3 separate regions of the Homo sapiens genome follow, and all the other regions are linked to region 3. Evidence: promoter capture Hi-C in 16 types of primary human blood cells and fetal thymus (Javierre and others, 2016). All regions are on one chromosome and are shown on one strand. The core of a region is centred on a gene start or on the middle of the fragment in contact, and the rest is flanking DNA. Distances in the headings are between cores, read along the strand shown.

The links. The method cuts DNA at HindIII sites, captures the fragments that hold promoters and counts their contacts. A CHiCAGO score of 5 or more calls a contact.
Region 1: a fragment that was not itself captured here is called in contact with the fragment with the promoter of S100A2 in region 3 in 1 of 17 cell types (neutrophils); the score reaches 5.5 in neutrophils.
Region 2: a fragment that was not itself captured here is called in contact with the fragment with the promoter of S100A2 in region 3 in 1 of 17 cell types (M1 macrophages); the score reaches 5.2 in M1 macrophages.

What each region holds. Positions count from the first base shown.
Region 1 is chr1:153,402,707-153,406,663 of GRCh38, forward strand. It overlaps a transcript of S100A8 not described here. Among named protein-coding and RNA genes, the nearest start is that of S100A7A, 12 kb to the right of the region's middle. The HindIII fragment of the contact is 1,268 bases long and covers 801-2,068 here.
Region 2 is chr1:153,362,470-153,367,048 of GRCh38, forward strand. No RefSeq gene overlaps it. Among named protein-coding and RNA genes, the nearest start is that of S100A9, 6.9 kb to the left of the region's middle. The HindIII fragment of the contact is 618 bases long and covers 2,187-2,804 here.
Region 3 is chr1:153,564,166-153,568,164 of GRCh38, forward strand. S100A2 (S100 calcium binding protein A2) reads right to left here and starts at 1,679. Exons shown (of 3, transcript NM_005978.4): 1 at 1,341-1,679. RefSeq lists enhancers at 36-793, 794-1,551, 1,671-1,730, 1,704-2,903, 2,601-2,840 and 1 more. The HindIII fragment of the contact is 6,475 bases long and covers 1-3,999 here.

The sequences.
Region 1 (3,957 bases), core at 185-2,684, 160 kb before region 3:
TATAGATTCAGTGCAATCCCAGTCCCAAAGTCCTTGCTGGAATTTTTGTAGAAATTGACAAGTTAACTGTAAAAAGTATATAGACAGGCCAAGAATAGCCAAGGGAATCATGAAAAAGAAAAGACATGGGAGGATCTACAGTACTAGATGTTAAGATTTATCATAACAGCTCCGGTAACTAAGATACTGCCTGGCTGGTTCAAGGACAGTCACATAGATCAACAGAACTAAATAGAGGTCTGAGAAAAAGACACACACGTATGGTATATTTATTCTGTGACAAAAGTGGCACTGCTGAGCACAAGCTTTTCAATACATTTTACTGGATCAACTGGATGCTCATGCTCATGAAACTAGACCACACAAGCAGACAAAATGACAATTCCAAGTGGATTGTAGGTCTAACTGTGGAAAGTAAAGTCATAAAGCCTCAGTAGCATATGCAAAGATATTCAAGACCTCAGTCTTGAAGATTTACTTCTATATTTTCTTCTAAGAGTTTTAGTTTTAGCTCTTATGTGTAGGGCTGTGACCTATTCTGAGTTAATTTGTGTGTATGAAGGAAGGAAGGGGTCCAGCTTCATTATTTTGCATGTGGCTGTCCACTTGTCCCAGCATCATGTGTTGGAAAGACTATTCTTTCTCCATTGAATTGGCTTGGCGGGCTTGTTGAAAATCAATTGACTGTGAATGTGAAGGCTGAGAACACTTTATCATGAACTGTTAGCTTCACCTATGTAAAGATATCTTCTCTCTGCTCTACCTCCTGTCGAAATCTGACACGACTCTTGCTCAAAACAAGCTTTGTTTCCTGAGTTCCGTGGCCTTGTCTCATGTGGAGCAATCATGTCACATTAACCCCCTCCCCACCCCCACTCCACGTCCACCCTGTGGGCCACGGCCCTGCCCTTTCCCAGCTGTTTTATGATCTGCTTTTTCAATTAGGACTATGTTTAAAACATCTCCCCAGTTCTTAAATATTTTTGAGTGATTGATTCCAAATAGCTACATTATATGGAATTCCAGAACCATTCTGACTAACAACACTTTTGACGCCAAATGTGTGGGGGTTATATTTCCTTTTTTTAAAATCCCCACACCAACCAATTCTCCAACACTCTGAACACCATCGGGGTATCGTGCAATTCCGTTCTGATCCTAACTACCAAGAGTTAGCACAGACCCCACAAGGTGAAGGCTCAGCCCCACAACACTGCCCCCACTGCAGATGCCAATCGCAGCACCTGACCGCCCATACTTCTGACTGACTGGCTAAAATTGGAGGTTCCTACAAACCCCCTCCTCAGGTTAGATAATCTGCTACAAGAGTTCACAGGACTCAGGGAGGCACTTTACTCATGATTACTGGTTTATTACAAAGAGTACAACTCAGGAAAAGCCACGTGGAAGAGACACACAGGGCCATGTATGAGGGGCAGCATGGAGCTCCCAGGCCCACTCCAGGAGCCCACCCTTCCGGCACCCCACCTGCTCAGCAGCCCTACAGTTCTCTGAACCCCATCGTTTGGGGTTTCTATGGCAGTCACTTCATTTAGGCATAGTTGATTAAATAATTGGCCACTGGTGATTGAAGTCCTTCCCCAGCCGCTCTGTGGAGGCCCAGTGTGGGGCTGAAAGCTCCAGCCCTCTAATCACATGGTTGCTTCCTCTGGCAACCAGCCCCATCCTGAAGCTATCTAGGGGTCCACCAAGAGTCACCTCATTAGCACACACTCAGCATGACTGGAAGGGGATTGTTATGAATAACAAAAGATGCTCCCTCTCCCCTGTCATTCAGGAGATTCCAAGGATTTCAGACGCTCGGTGTCAGGAACAGGGACAAAGACCAAATGTCCATTTCGTATCATCACAGGGATTCCATGTGTATAGGCATCAAGATTTACTTAACCCACCATTACTAAAAATTTAATTATTTTTATCTCTTCCTGTTTCTACCACTTGATTAACAATTGTGTCCCCAATATACTATTTTATGCAGTGTCCTCTGGTAAGCATTGGAGAGAGAAAAGAATACAAATTAAGTAAGAAAAGCCCTCTGCCTTTCAGAAGCTTTTGGTGAAGATCTCTTTTTTTAACAGGTGCAAGATTGGTGCCCGACGTGGGACTCACAACCTACAGAAGGGCGGGAACCACGAAGGACCCAGCCACGTGGTACTGCCTCCGGCGACAACCAGGGCGAGGTGGGTGCTCGGTGGCGCCACCGTGTGGAAGCTTGGGAAACAGAAAACCAATTCTCTGCACTCAGGGCCAGAGTTTTGTCCTGGGCCTCTGACTGGGGCCAACTGTAACAGGAACAGCCCTTACAGTGTAAGTCAGAATCCTACAGTCCTCCTTGGCCAAGGAGCCTTCCTGGAGTCCCCCCCACCCCGCACTGCTTTCTCCAGCTTGCCAGTTTTACCTACACGGCCCAGCCTCGTCTTAAAATTGGGCGAGATGAGGAATGATCATTGCCAACTTGAAATTTGGTTGAACAGATACATTTCTCAGGGTACGCTTGGGTCACTTCCTAGCACTGTCTGTGTATGCGGCCTCCGAGAAAGCAACCTCCCTTATCAGGCTAACAGAATTGACAGTAAATCCTCCCAGCAAACCCATTCGACAGGATGGTGGGTGTTAGTCCAAACTGCACCATTTTGTAAGCCCCCTGCCATTTTGCGGACCCTGGTCAGAGTGAAACATTCCATGTGGATTCAGGCCGTGAGAAACATCCTGCCTAACCACCTGACCGCAAGGCACAAGAGCATCCTTATCATACCCTGCTGGGCAAAGGCGCAACTGAAGGAACATCCCCATCATATCCTGCGGGGCAAAGGTCCAAGAAACAGCCTATCACATCCCGCTGGAAAAAGGTCCAAACCGCCTGATCACAGGAACATCTTATCAATATCCTCCCGGCGAGCTAGCCATACTGCCCAGACCCCCACCTAGACCTATAAATTACCCCAGCCTGTAAGCGGCAGGGGGCTCTGGCATTAAGCTTGTCCCCCACCTCCTCAGGTCTTGTGCTGGACATAAAACCTGCATTTCCATAGAGCCACCAACTCTCTCTGTGTCTTTTTTTAACCCTTGCCTTCCCTTCAAAACCTAACAGTGGGACCACAGGCTCTGGGCTGCAGCTGGGTGTTCTCATCCTCCAGTGTGGATGGCTCACAGCAGAACTGAGTCCTAATAACCTCTTGTGAATGCTGCAGAACTCTCTCTCTGTCTCTCTGTCCCGCTCCCCCAACTGCTGCACGAGTCCAGAGATGCAGCTGGCCAGCACCACCCAGAAGGACCCCAAACAGAACAGCTGGCTGTCTTGGAACATTCCCGTGGCTCCCTCTGCCCTGTCCCTCTCACCGTGGCTCCTGGAAGTGCTCTATGGCCTATTGAAAGGATGCCCCTACAAAGCTTCCCCTGGTTCCCCCACCTGAAAAGTGATTTCTCCTCTTCCAAATTCCCACACACTTTATCTGAACCTTTTTGAAGACACCTGCCTCACTTGCTAGTTTGGCCAATGTTTATGGAGTTCTCTGCACTGGAGGCTGGGGGCACAATATAAGACATGGCTGGGCGGCAGCAAACATAGCATATGTGTGGCCAGGGCTGTCACTGAGACATGCAGGGACATGGGGATGATGGCTCTGCCTGGAGAAGGCTTCACAGAGAAAGTGACCACTGAACTGCCTGGGGACCTGGGGGCTTCCGGGCTCTGTCCCACTCTACTCTCTCACCACCCAGTGCCTTATATTGGAGTTCTCTCCTGGGGCCAGAGCATTGCTCAAAGCATGGTCCACATCCACTCCATCTCCCTGCCACCCTGACACCTGCACACCCAGAACAGAGTCAGCACTCACAGCATAAATGAATGGATAAAATACAGCAAAAAGAACAAATTGCTTTCTGTCCTCTTCCCCCAGCAACTTGAGATCTTCTAGAGACCCAGGAGTATGTTGC
Region 2 (4,579 bases), core at 1,246-3,745, 200 kb before region 3:
GTCTCAGGCTGAGAGCTTAGGCAGCAGAGTCTAGAAGCCCTCCTCAGTCCCTTCTGTGCCTGACTTGGAGACCTGACAGCTGGGGACACTCATTTTCTGACAGCCCTTCTGCTCCCATGCTCACATCCAGGGAGGAGTCACTGTCTTCACTCCCTTCTGAACACAGCTTGGTAATGAGGAGAGAGAAGCATCCTGGGGATTGGAGGGCCTTAGACCAGATGCTTCCAGTAGGGTGGTAAGTGCTCCCCCTAGGCCCTCTGCCCACCACTACTTATCACAATGTGCCTAAATATGTTTATGACTCTGCCTACCCCTCCAGACTGATAACTCCAAGAGAGCAAAGTCCATCTGTTTTTTTTTTCTGATTTATTCTCAGCACCTAGAGTAGTGGCTGCTACATAGAAGGTTCTCAGCAAATATTGCCTGTATAATGGCCTAGGTTTCTCACGTGTTCTATGCTCTCTTCTCAAGGGATGATGTGGAGAAAAAAAAGCAAGAGGAGATCAAAACCTGCAAATGGAAGGCTTCTGCATTAGCATTACAGAATCTCAAACCTGAAGGTAAGGAGCAGCAAGTTGATGGAATCGGAGGGCCCCTCCACCCCCTGTTCAATCAGACCAATTTGATTTGAAGGAAGAGATTTGTCTTGAAAAAAGTGTGAAAACTATGGACTTAATCCAATCTGCCCCACCCACACTCTAGAGTGATTCTTGCCAACATCCCTGCCAAGTGACTGAACCAACCCTGCCTGAATTCCTCCAGGAAAGGAGAGTTTCCCCCTTTGGGAGTGACACTTGGAATGTCCCTCATTATACTGAGCTGAAATCCATCTCCTCATGCCCACCCAGCATTAGTCCTACTTTTCCTCCCCTTTGAGGACACAGAACAAATCTAACCCCTTATCATCCATCCTCCCATCCACATGTTTATTCCTCCACTTCTTCAAAACGCCTTCCCTAAATTACATCCAGGCTTTCTCCAGCCTCTTCACCTTTGCACCAAAAATGCTGTGCTCCATCCTGGTGTCTCTTGTAAGTCCCTTAGGATCCATCAAGCCTTGGAACAAGTGTTACTGCTTCCTCACCATCCACCCTTCTCAAGAAGATAGGGACTTCCTCCTCCAGGCCCACAGAACTCTGACAATTCCACCATTGCACTTCAAATACTGAATGGCAAATACTCATTTGCCAAGACTATGAACCCCTGAAAGCAGGGACTATAGCTGATTTTCCCCCACATTCAAGATCCCAGCATGGACCATCCACTTGTTCATCCACAAAGTGAAGATAGGATGGTTCTAGAGCAGAAATGGGTGCTTTGCTCGAATGTGGGTGTGAGGTAGGAGTGGCTCTCAGGAACTGGGGTTGGGGGTGCCAGCTGTCTGGAGACCTGGGGCTGGCAGAGAGCAGAGCAGCTGAGTGGCAGGATGACCCAGAGACCTCCTCAGGTAACAAGGATTCTTCCATTTACCTTGTCTCTAGTAACTCAGTCTGCATGTAGGCAATTGTTTCAGACCCTGGGGGAAGGTCTGACAACAAGCCACTTGCACCCTGCGGAATTTTCTTTAAACGTAGTTGAACAGAACTCATCAAGGTGACTTAACCTCTTCATTCCCATTAGCCTCTTTCATTTCAAAAAAAAAAAAAAAAAAAAAAACCTCATTCTGCTGAGTAGAGCAGAGTGGGCTTCTTTTCTCAGATAGAGAGAGCAAGCATGTCCATGTCCATGTCAAGGTTAAGATTCCCACTCCAAGTGGAAATCAGTAGCTATCTCTGTGATTAATGAGTCCTTTGGGGAAACATGACCTTTGGGGACTTTCCCAGCACCATGGTGACTAAAGAATCAGAGACAACCTGTCTTCAGATGACTATCCAACAATTCCTGCAACAATGAGTTGCCCTCCAGGCTGGTGTTAGCAGTGGAACCTGAACTGCTAGATGCCTTCCTGGGAGGAATGAGGAAGGATCAGAAGTAGTCTAAGCTGCTAAACTCTTCCCAGACACTTCACAGTGCTCTGAATGTGGTCTGGGGCCTGGGTGGTGGTGGGATGGCTCCAGAACTTGGGGGAGAAATGAATTCACTTGTCCACTCACTTGTATGTCCCTTCATTCACTCAACAGACATTAACTGCAGACTTACTATGTGTCAGGCACAGTATAATGCTGAGGGGCCTTCATGATAAATAAAGCTTGTCCATGTTGTCAAAGAGTTCTCGGGCCTGCAGGGAGACAAGACAGCTCCTCAAATTAATCTGATGTGGAAAATGAGAGGCCAGGGAGGTCCAGCTAAAAGATTTCGGTGGGATGTAGCTCGGTGGGACTTTGAGGTGGGAATGATGCCCTTCACTGGGGCCATCTCCATGGAGGGGTAAGTATCAGTGTGACATCAAGGCTGGTACCTGGAGACATCCCGGGATAAACATGAAGGTGCTTCAGGAGACCATGTATGCAAAGGCCTGGAAATGGGCAGGCGTGGGGTTTGAGGGCGAATGAGGAGCACTGGGGGCGTGGCAGGGAGAGGTAAGAGAGACAGATGAGAACAGGATAGGTACCAGGCCAAGGAACTCACACTCCATTCAGCAGAACAGGGGCAGAGCCCCGAAGGCTTCAGGGAGGGCAATGATATAATCACATTTGCATTTCATAGAAGTTTCTCTATCTGTGTTTTATGGGATGGGTTTGGGGTGGGAATGAGACCCCAGGCACATGGCCTGTGGGGAGTCTGTTGCAAGAGCCCAGGTGAGCACTTAAGAGTCCAAGCGGTGCTTCTCAGAAAAAGTAAAGCTAGAGCCTCAAACTACCCCAAGCTTCACCTCAATTAGGAGAGGTGTGACTGCAACATGATAAATAAGATCATTTCATGCTGTTTGCCAAGACCTTTCCAGGAAGGAAGATCTCAGCTTTCACCAGCCCGGTGAGCCAACCTTACACAACCCTGATGCAGCCCTGCCCTGAAGTAAGCTCCATAATCCAACCCCAATGCACTGCCCCCTCTTCCGGCAGTTGCTTAAAACATATATTTTAGAAAGCCCCGTGTCATGGATTTTGACACTCCAATTACCAAAGTGACAGCAGGACTGAAACAACTGGTTTCTCAAGTCCTATTGCCCCTTGGGGCTCTGACCTGAAACAGTTTCTCTATCCTAAGACGACAATCAGTCCCTGGATGATTAGATCACCCCTGTCTTCAGAGATCCACTCCCAGACACAGGAGACAGGGAAAGGGAGCCCCTGAGCGACAGCCAGCTGGCCTCCATCCTGAGTGTCCCACGGAATGCAGAGTCCCAACTAAACACAGAGCACCGCTATTGGTGCTGGCTCAAAACAACTACATCTAGGCTTTCCTTTTCTGCATGAGTTCTCCCACTCTTGCCCACGTACCCAAAATTGCTGCATGCAGACTGTACAGTGAGGAAGGGGTTTGTTGCCAAGACCCGAGGTGAAGAGGAAGAGGAGGGTGGCCACCAGCAGGGGCGGCAGGGGCAGCAGGATTCCAGCATGCAGCCCGCACCTTCAGCATCCCCCGCCTTGACTTGGAGTCTGATCCTCCCTCCTCTCCCCTGCCTCTCCCCCAACCTTTTCCCTCTTGATTTGCCCCCTCTCTTTCTCTCTTTACCTTTTCTACATCCTCTCCCTGAGCTTTTTCTCACTTACTGCCTTCTGCCCTCCTGTCCTCTGTGGTAAAATGCAGTTCTATGTGGCTGAGTGCTTTCAGGGAAGCAACTAGGGGTCATATCTAACCTTTGTGAAGTAACTACGGGTCATATCTAACCAGAAATGGCTCCCTCAAAACACAAGATGTCCCAGTTTCGAGTCTACTCCTCATAATGAAAGGAGACAATCACAAGGGAAAATTGTTGAAGGTCTTGGGGAATCAAGTCTGGAAAAGGTAAGCAAGGGAGCCATGACAGCTGCCTTCAAATATCACCAGGGTCCAGGGAGAGGAGCCCACCCCCGGGGGCAAGGCCTCCAAACCCGCTGTGGTGTGGCTCATTTGCTGCCAGGCCCTCCCACTCTCCCAGCACTGCCTCAAGCATCGCCCTCGCATTCTACTCCAGGTGTTCATTCCCTCTGGTAGGAAACAGCTCCATGCAAAGAAGCCAACATTCATCAGCTATTCAGTCTGCAAATACTCATTGAGTGAGAACTAAATGCAGAGCACTGTTATAGGTGCTGGGTCAACAAAACTGCGTCTAGGGGAGAGTCAGACAAGAGGCAAGTCAAGAAATAGATAGCCCAGATCATTTTAGATGGTGATGAGTTGCACAAAGAAAATAAAGGGGACATGCTAACAGGACTGCTTTGTGGGCCGGCAGCCAGGCAAGGAAGCAACACTGGAAATGAGGCCTGGATGACAAGAAGCCATCTCAACGAAGATTTCACCCCAAACACATTGGAGAGCCTTTGGAGGGTTTTAATCAGGCAGGTGATGTGATATGATGTATCTGGAGGAGAATATTCGGCAGCTGTGTGGAGGGTAGCCTGGAGAACCCCAGAGTAGAAGCATGAGGACCAGTTAGGAGGCTGATGAGCCTGGTCTTATGTCAAATAGTGTGCTAGATTCCCTGCCTTCACAGAGC
Region 3 (3,999 bases), core at 429-2,928:
CCCATTTTAGTGTCTGCCAGAAGGGAAATGACAGGGTGACCAGAGTCCCATTTTGATGGCATCTGCGCAGGCTCTGGGGAGCAGGGCCACATGCACCGGCTGGCAGATGGGGGCTCCTGTGCAGTCTGGCAGGAGCCATGGCTACAGCCTAGGAGCAGGAAGCTCCCTGAAGGAGTCGTTTCCCTCCTTAGACTCGGGACTCCTGAAGCCAGAGGCATCTCTCTCTGCCATCTAACTGGAAGCTCCCTTGGGCAGGAGTGTTTCCTCTCTCAGACTAGGAGCTCCCAGAGGGTGGGGAATGTGTCTCCCCTCACCCTGAAGGCCCCTGAGCCTCTAGGCAGACAGGGGCATGGATAGGGTGGGGGCAACTTAACATTCTCTCCACCAGGAAGGATCCTGTTGGAATTAGAATTAAAGATATGAAATGTTCATTGCCTTGGGATCAGGATGGGACAGACCTCAGCGGCAAGGCCTCTGAGAATACTCAGACCAGCCTGGAAAGGTTAGGCAGGTTTCAGGGTGAGGCCAGAGGAGCTATGCCAGAGGCAGGGCATGCCCTGGGCCCATCATGCCAGCCCTGCCTTCACCGAGGCAGGGGGCAGAGCTTTGCTGCTTGGGGCCATGACCCAGGCAGAGTCTTGAGACCCCTGCCTCTTGCACCTTAGTCCTGCTAGAATCCAGGACTTTGCAAAAAAAAAAAAAAATCTCAGGATTCTTTTTGCAGCAACGCCCACATGCACACCTCCTGCTCCTAGGCCTAGACCCCCAAAGAAGGGCCCCTAGACTGAGATATCCAGGGGAGGGCCTCAGAGCAACCCCTGCACTGAGACCTCACAGAGGAACCTGGAGAAAAACCCTTCAGTCGGCCGGGCGCGGTGGCTTACTCCTGTAATCCCAGCACTTTGGGAGGCCGAGATGGGTGGATCACGAGATCAGGAGATCGAGACCATCCTGGCTAACATGGTGAAACCCCATCTCTACTAAAAATACAAAAAAATTAGCCGGGCATGGTGGTGGGCGCCTGCAGTCCCAGCTACTCGGGAGGCTGAGGCAGGAGAATGGCGTGAACCTGGGAGGGGGAGTTTGCAGTGAGCTGAGATCACACCACTGTACTCCAGCCTGGGCGACAGAGCGAGACTCCATCTCAAAAAAAAAAAAAAAAAAAAAAAACCCTTCAGTCAACACTTCAGCACTTCACAGAGAGTTCTTCCAAGGGGGAAGGCCCAGAGAGGCCCAGGTTGATCCCACCAGGGAAGCTGGAATGAGAGAACTGTGGAGACAAAGACAGAGACCCACGGGGATCCTCCCCACCCTGCCCTCAGCAGGACAGAGGTACTCACCAGACCAGGTGGCAGAGACAGACCCAGGAAGGAGAGCAAGGCAGCCAGGCTCCCAGGGTGAGGATTTATATGTGGGCCCCACTGGCCCCCAACTTGGCATTTTAAGGAAACCAAACCTGCCTCAACCTGATCCCACCAAACCCTGGCCTCTTGCCATTCCCACTCATTCCCTCCCAGCCCCCTCCCTCCCAGAGAGTGCCAGCTCCACCACCAGCTGGGGGAGGGCTCTAGGCCAGGTCAAGGGCAGCCCCTGAGCCCACCCAGGCCACAGTGGGAAGTGGGAGGTGTCGTGGGGACTGGGCATCCTGGACCGGGGTGAGGGGAGGCAACCCCTGCTCTGGGGCCTGGAGACTGGTGCCAGGCCTCATTCTCATGACATGCCTGTGAGTCACAGCCCACTCCTGTGTGAGAGGCTGTGAGCACACGCTGAGACTTCATGGTCCAGTGCTCGTGTACATACATGCGCCCGTGTGTGTGAGAGAGAAGCAACCTGGGGCCACCCTTAGGAAGCTGGGGGCCAGAGGAGGCAGCTGGGGGACATCAGGAGGAGAAGGACAGGACTGACTTCAGGGCATGGATGAAGTGGAGTGACTTTTAATGGCCAGCACCAGAATACCTCTTAATGAGGTAATGAGGTAACTAAGTGTGCTTAGAAATACCTGGGAAGGTCCCTCTGTGTAGGAAGGTGTCTGGAAGGATGGGGAAGCAGTGAGAAATGGGGTTGCTCTACACACAGCCGCAGTTGGGCTGGGCCACAGTCTGTGGGGAGCATAAGGAAGTCCCGAGTAGTTAAAGGCTGAACAGGAAAACTTTGGCCTCCTCTTCTCCAGCTTGAGGGCTGGGTGGGTGGGTAGGGGTACATCCCTACCCAAGGCTGAAAACACCAGCTGGACAGCTTCCCAAGCCAGAATCCAGGCCTGAAGCACAGCCCTCAGCCACAGCCCTCTCTCACTGCCCCCCACACACATGTCCTCCCCAGACCCGGAGAAAGGCAAACACTGTGGCCATTCAGAGCCCAGCCCAAGGGAGGGCTGCCCCCTCCCAGGGCCCCTTCCTCCTTGGCCCTTTGTCTATCCCGGCCCGTCTGGGCATCAGGGCACCGCCCTTCCTGTGGCCCCAGCTCCCCTCCCTGCTCCAGCTGTCGAGTAGCTTCTTCCCCTCCCCCAGCCCCTCTACCTCAGCCCTAAGTGACTCACCCGAGGTTCCAGGCCCAGATGCCCAGGCAGTGACTCAGCGGCACACCCTCCTCCCCCAGGGCCAGGGCAGCAGCAGTCCCAGAGCAGTAGGTGGAAGCCCCAGCCCAGCCTGGCAGGGAAAGCACTGGCACAGAGACCCCAAACAGGCCCTGCCAGGAGGAGCTTTGGATAATGACATGGCAGGAGGATCAGACTGAGAACAGGCTGGTCCCTTCCTAGCGGTCACCGTGTGACTTGGGGGCCAGCCTGAGCAGTGTACATGAAGTCAGGCCTTGGGGCCCCCAGTGTCCTCTTCTACACCTTGGCACAGCCACCGAGTGTCCCTTGCTCCCCTCAGTACTTGAACCCCTCATGCTACTTGTCTTCCCATCGAGGCCTACTTCAAGTAGAACTCGGAATAAAAACCCTTCACACTGAGGGTGAGGGACAAGGGAGCGCAATGCATCGATTTTCACAGCCATTCTTTCCTTTTAACTAAGGGCCTCCACAGGGCCTTCCCTGCTCAGAAACTGCAGTGCATCCCCATGGCTGTCCCTTAAAGCCAGGCGGTATGTTCTCACTCATAAGTGGGAGTTGAACAATGAGAACATATGGACACAGGGAAGGGAACACCACATACCAGGGCCTGTGGGCAGTTGCGGGGAGAAGGATGGGGGCAAGGGGAGGGAGAGCATTAGGACTAATACCTGATGCATGCGGGGCTTAAAACCTAGATGATGGGTTGATAGGTGCAGCAAACCACCATGGCACATGTATACCTATGTAACAAACCACATTCTGCACATGTATGCCAGAACTTAAAGTAAAAATAAAATAAAATTAAATTAAAATTAAAAATTTTTAAAAAGCCTGGCAGTGAGGCGCTCCAGACTCGGCCTGCTGCTGCGTGTCCCTTAAACACACCGGCACATGCAACTAGTGTGGCCAAGACCCTCGGCTTGCGCTGACCCCTCTGTTCAGAACGTGCCCACACATGCCCATGCCCTCTATCCTGCTGAAATCCAACCCCCCCTTCAAAGGCCACTGCAGGGAGCCTTCCCAGGGCCCAACCGGATTCAGTGTCTACCTGTTCTGTCCTGTACAAAGCGCCCCTTTTGCCCTTTTCGTGTGTACTTAGAGAATTCTGATTTTGACTGAATCACCTGTGTACTTGTTTTCTCTCAGCCTCACCCCCACATGGTGAGCTCACCGGTCTTACTCATTTCTGCATGAGGTAAGGGTCTCGCCCACACCAGGTGCCAACCAGTGCTTACGGCTACCACATGGCAACAGGGGTCACTGGAGGAGTGCTTAGGAGCAAGGGAGTCCTTCTCACCCCGTGAAATCACACCACTGACTATGCTACGAAATAATCACCTCTCCTCTGGATCCCAAGAGTGGAACCGAGACAACGGGTCGGAAAAGAGCTTCAGAGAGCTACAAATCCCTGAGGAGTGACAGCAGGAAACTGCGGCTCCCAGGAC